Linked DNA regions of Homo sapiens: region 1 is linked to region 2. The links are contacts of gene promoters, found by promoter capture Hi-C in human tissues and cell types (Jung and others, 2019). All regions are on one chromosome and are shown on one strand. The core of a region is centred on a gene start or on the middle of the fragment in contact, and the rest is flanking DNA. Distances in the headings are between cores, read along the strand shown.

The links. Contacts are between HindIII fragments. The study calls those that stand out against the background at their distance.
Region 1: a contact is called between a fragment that was not itself captured here and the fragment with the promoter of ATP6V1G1 in region 2, in 1 of the 25 tissues and cell types used here (IMR-90 fibroblasts).

What each region holds. Positions count from the first base shown.
Region 1 is chr9:114,979,618-114,982,317 of GRCh38, reverse strand. No RefSeq gene overlaps it. Among named protein-coding and RNA genes, the nearest start is that of TNFSF8, 50 kb to the right of the region's middle. The HindIII fragment of the contact is 4,565 bases long and covers 1-2,700 here.
Region 2 is chr9:114,586,333-114,589,081 of GRCh38, reverse strand. ATP6V1G1 (ATPase H+ transporting V1 subunit G1) reads right to left here and starts at 1,313. Exons shown (of 3, transcript NM_004888.4): 1 at 1,162-1,313. The coding sequence starts at 1,243. RefSeq lists enhancers at 878-1,387, 1,498-1,577, 1,216-2,034, 2,035-2,749. The HindIII fragment of the contact is 8,309 bases long and covers 426-2,749 here.

The sequences.
Region 1 (2,700 bases), core at 38-2,537, 390 kb before region 2:
AATAAAATTAATTGTTAAAATTCATTTTAGCTGCTCCTTTTTCCTTTATTTACTGTGGCTACTAGAATTTTTTTTTTTAATTTCTGTGTGGCTTATATTATGTTTCTATTGGACAGCACTGGTCTAAACTACTTGCTAATTCTGTGATCAAGTCATCTCAACCATCATCCAGCAGAAAGGGCCCTAAAGATGGAGAGTAATTTGATATCTGATCATCAAAACTGTTGACAACACCTAGAATCTTAAACTGTTAGTTCTGGAAGGAACCTGTGGCAGAAACTTCTAATTGTTCTACAATACCCATTATCCTCTTCTCTCGGAATCACGGAACCCCAGTTTTTAGCTGGCAACGTATATCAGCTAAGAATATAGACTCTATTTCTGTATTTCCTAATCTACCTTGCAGATTGGGTGAGCCCATGTGACAAACTTAAGGCCAAGGGAATGTGAGCTGAAGTACTATGTGCAGCTTCCAGGTTACATATTTAATCATTAGATATTTTGCTTGGCTTTGTATGTTTTCCTGCTTTAGGAAAAATATAAAGGATCCTGGACCCTGGAGGATTTCTTGGAGTAGAGACACCTATAGCCTATCTTGAGACCTCTACATGAGGAAGAAGGACGTTTCCATCTTCCTTTAATACAACTAATTTAGTCTTAATTAATACAGATCCTGGAGGTCGTTTTTGTTCAACACTCCAACATTACAGGATAATTATATATCAGAGAGGACTACAATTACCTAAATTCACACAGCAACTTAGCATGAGCTGGGTCTTGAACCTAAAGCTTCTTATTATTTATCCTTCCCTACCATGCATTGCACTCAGCTATCTTATCCAATTTACAGTCTATAAAAATACATTCCAGAAGATGTGATGCATAAATGAACTATTATCCTTTGGATCTTAGAGATAAGAATTTCAGTTTGCTCATATATTTTTGTTTTGAACTGCATCCTTAAAACAATGATTTGTGTAAACTACCCATGATGCAATATTAGCTTACTTAAGCGAGAGACACACAGTCATAAAATAAACTTATTCATGACATCTCGCTGGAGGCACTAAAACAATAAAATGTAATCCTGATGTCACTTGCTACCTCCCTGCCCTTTAAAATCCAGATAAGGCTGGCTCAAACGATCAACTCCATGCTTCATGGAAGACCAAAGCCTGCAGATTTCTGGGAAAGAAAAAGGGGAGACGGGAGCATGGGGGATTTGTATTCTGATGTCTCCAAATCTAGGTTTCTGATTCTGCAAATGCTGTTTTGTCCACATGGCTACAATCCAGACGAGAAACCCCGCCTTTCTTCAATTTCTACACACCCATACACTCATCTTGCACAAAGAGCTAATAAGTATAGTGCACTTACTTGAAGATTTATTTAGTAGCTAGAAAAAGGATTATTATATCACAACAACTTCAAATTGGACATTAGGCATCCCCCTTGTGAAGCCCTCCTTTGGCCACTGTCTTAGTTTGGGCTGCCATAGCAAATTACTATAGACTGGATGGCATAAACAGCAAACACTCATTTTCTTACAGTTATGGAAGCTAGGAAGTCCAAAATCAAGGTACCAGCAAAGCTGGTATCTGATGAGGACACTCTTCCTGGTTTGCAGACAGCTACTTTCTCATTGTATCTTCACATGCAGAGACAGACAGAGATCTTGTGTTCCCTCCTTATTTTATAAGGGCACTCATCCCATCATAAGGGCCCCATCTTCATGACCTCATCTAACCTTCTCTACCCCTCAAAGGTCCCGCCACCAAATACCATCACATTGGGAATTAGTATTTCAATATGTGAATTTGAGGTGGACACAAATATTCAATCCATAACAACCACCTTATCATAAGGCAATTCCATAAGATGCTCTTCCCAGGGTCACTACTAGGCCATAGGGACACCTCCTTCAAGTGCAGACCCAGAAAATACGACTTAGGGATCAGGACACTGGTTTAATTGCAAACCCAGCCAGCTGCCTCAGCCAACCAGTTGAGCAAAGGCAACTTGCACAACAATGCATATTGTTGTAAAGCTCTACCTCTGTTTACCCTGTGGAGTCCTCAGCCATAGACCATCTTTCTAGTCCCTCCTTCTCTCATCCCCTTGTAAACCACTGACCTCTCCTATTCCCCATATATCTCTTAACTCCTCTTATATTCTCAGGTTGGACAGCTTAGCTATAGCTTTCCTTTTGCTTGAACTCCTGACAACCCCTTTGGGGTCTTACCTGCTACTCAGAGAGGCTTCACATATGATCTTTCAAATAAGAAGGACTCCTTCTACTACATCCTAATGTCAGTAGATGTTAGTGCCCCCTCCCCAAATTCATATGTTGAACCCAAATCTGCAGTGTGATAGTATTTGCATGTAGGGCCTTTAGAAGGTGATTATTAGATCGTTAGGGTAGAACCCTCATGCATGAGAGTAGTGTCCTTATAAAAGAGACCCCAGTGAACTCCCTTGCTACATCCACCATGTGAGGATGCAGTGAGAAGACAGCAGTCCATGAATGAGGAAGCAGGCCCTCACCAGACACCAAATCTTCCAGCAACTTGATCCTGGGCTTCTTAGCCTCCAAAACTGTGAGAAATCACTGTTCGTTGTTTATGAGCTACCAGTCTGTGATATTCTGTGACAACAGCCCAAGCAGACTTAGATACACTTCACAGATGAATTCTGGTATAA
Region 2 (2,749 bases), core at 64-2,563:
AACAAAGGGGAGGAGAATTGGAAAAGGCTTCTCACGTCAGAAGAAACAGCGTGTGCAAAAACCTGCAGGTGAAAGACATCATGCTGCTTCTGAGGGACCACAACGATTCAGTATAGCTGGAGGAAAGCACCAGGCCTGACCCACAAGAGCCTCCCCAACTTCATTAAGGAATTTGAGCTTTCTTCTGCAGGAACTAAACGTCTGACTACAAAGGCGGTAGGGAAATCATATCTGCACTTATTTATTTATTTTGTTCCTTACCAGCAGGAAGTCACATATTTGCATTTTAGAAGGATGACTGATTGCAGAGAGGAGAATGGATTGACTGGAGGGGACCAGAACGGGTTCTTCCACTCCCCAGTCTAGATTAAACTCACCTGTTAAATTCTTTAGCAACCTTACATTTCTCCACTCCAGCCCTCATCTCTCCTGCAATTAATTAACTGACCCAATACCTGCTTCCTTCACTGCGACACTGAATGCCACGTTAGGGGAGACAACTGATGCACTGGGCACTGCGCTTGCCACATATTAGACAGAAACACACACACACACACACACACACACACACTGCGCTTGCCACATGTTAGAAACACACACACACTGCGCTTGCCACATATCAGAAACACACACACGCACACACGCCAACGATTTAGACAACTACAGTACCTTTAGAGAAACTGGTGTCCTGGACTAAGACGCTGGTAGTAGACATGGGGGAAAAAGTGAAAGATACGCAAGCCTTGGCGACTGACTAAATGAGGGAGGGAGAAGAGGCAAGCAGGACTCCAGGTTTCTAGACCAAGCAACTGTGTGGATGCTGGCTCCCTTCACCGAGACTGACCACCCCAGAGCGGTTAAGTGGGAGAGAAGAAGAACAAAGAGCTCCGTTTGGAGAGCCCATTTCACATGCCTCCAGGCCCCAAGGACGGTAACCCATTATTGTTTCCACGCCCAATTTACCATCTCACATCGTGGCTTCCAGGCGATCCGCAAGCCTTCCAGAGCCTCAGCTCCTCAAAGCTTCGAAACACACAACCTTCCGCGACTATACGCACGCCCGCACCCCGCAGTTTTTCGGGCCTAATCTACCCACCACCTGAGGCCCAGCGGTCTTTCTTCGACTCGCGCCACGCCGGGCAGCCCCACCCTGAAACTCACTTTTGCGGGCCTCGGACACCTTCTCGGCTGCCCGCTTCTCGGCCTGCAGCAGCTGCTGAATCCCCTGAGACTGACTAGCCATGGCGGCAGCGATTCTGAGAGCAAGGCAAGCGGCCTAAGGCACCTCGAAGGCCCCTTGGGTCAGCTGACACAGCCGCCCACAATCTGCGCTTGCTCCTTGCGCCTGCGCTTCGCCCCCGTTGTCACGTGACCGCACAGCGTAGCATCAGCTGACCGCTCTTGAACTTCTGTGATTCGGCAGAAATGGGGCGGGGCGGGGCTGAGGAGAAAGGAGCGGAGCTCCTCGACTGCGCCTGTGCAGTCTACTGCGCAGTACTGCCCTCTACTCCTCTGTCCGCTCCCTGGCCTCTTTTAATGGCTACCCTGTCGCTGGTTCACTCTGTAGCCGCCCTGCCACGTATAGTGTCTGTTTGCAGTATGCTCAACGTCAAGAGAGGAGGGGCCAAGTCAAATCACTTTCCTCCTACTCTCCACACTGCTCTACTCACTCCCTTTCTGGGACTTTCTTTGGCACTCAAAATTTTATCGGGGTAGTTCAGGAAGATTCTTGCCAGTTCCGGGGATAGAGTCTTGGGTTGCCAGTTAGGAGACTCGGGATCAAGTCTGCCGCTAACCTGTGTGATTTTGGACAGGTCGCTATCCTTTTCTGAACCCGAGTTCAGGAATGGACTGGACTGTTTCCCATAAATATTTGATGAAAGCCTGCTGTGATCCTAGTCCACTGTTGATATTGAGGACATAGCAGAGAGCAGGGCAAACAAGGTCCCGGCGGAGCTCACAGTTTATGGACACAGACAGATTAATTAAAATAAATAGACAATTACAAACTGTGATAAAGTCATGAAGGAAAAATGCAGGGTGCCGTAAGAAGGAACCTTTAGTAAGGGGAGAGGAATATGGAGGTGTCTCTGAATGCTGTACCAAGGAAGTGGTGTTTAAGATCTGAAGGCCAGGCGCAGTGGCTCACGAGCCTGTAATCCCAGCACTTTGAGAGGCCGAGGCGGGTGGATCACTTCAGGTGAGGAGTTCGAGACCAGCCTGGCCGACGTGGTGAAACCCCGTCTTTACTAAAAATACAAAAATTAGCCGGGCGTGGTGGCGCGCGCCTGTAATCGCAGCTACTCAGTAGGCTGAGGCACGAGAATCGCTTGAACCCGGGAGGCGGAGGCTGCAGTGAGCCGAGATCGTGACGCTGCACTGCAGCCAGGGCGACAGAGCAAGACTGTCTCAAAAAAATTAAAATTAAAAAATTAAAATAGGCCAATCGCGGTGGCTCACGCCTATAATCCCAGCACTTTGGGAGGCTGAGGCCGGCGGATCACGAGATCAGGAATTTGAGACCAGCCTGACCAATGTGGTGAAACCTGGTCTCTACTAAAAATACAAAAATCCGGGCATGGTGGCGCGCGCCTGTAATCCCAGCTACTCAGGAGGCTGAGGTAGGAGAATCGCCTGAACCTGGGAGCTGAGGTTGCAGTGAGCCGAGATCGTGTCACTACACTCCAGCCTGGGTGACAGAGCAGACTCCATCTCAAAAATAAATAAGTAAATAAATAATAAAAATTCT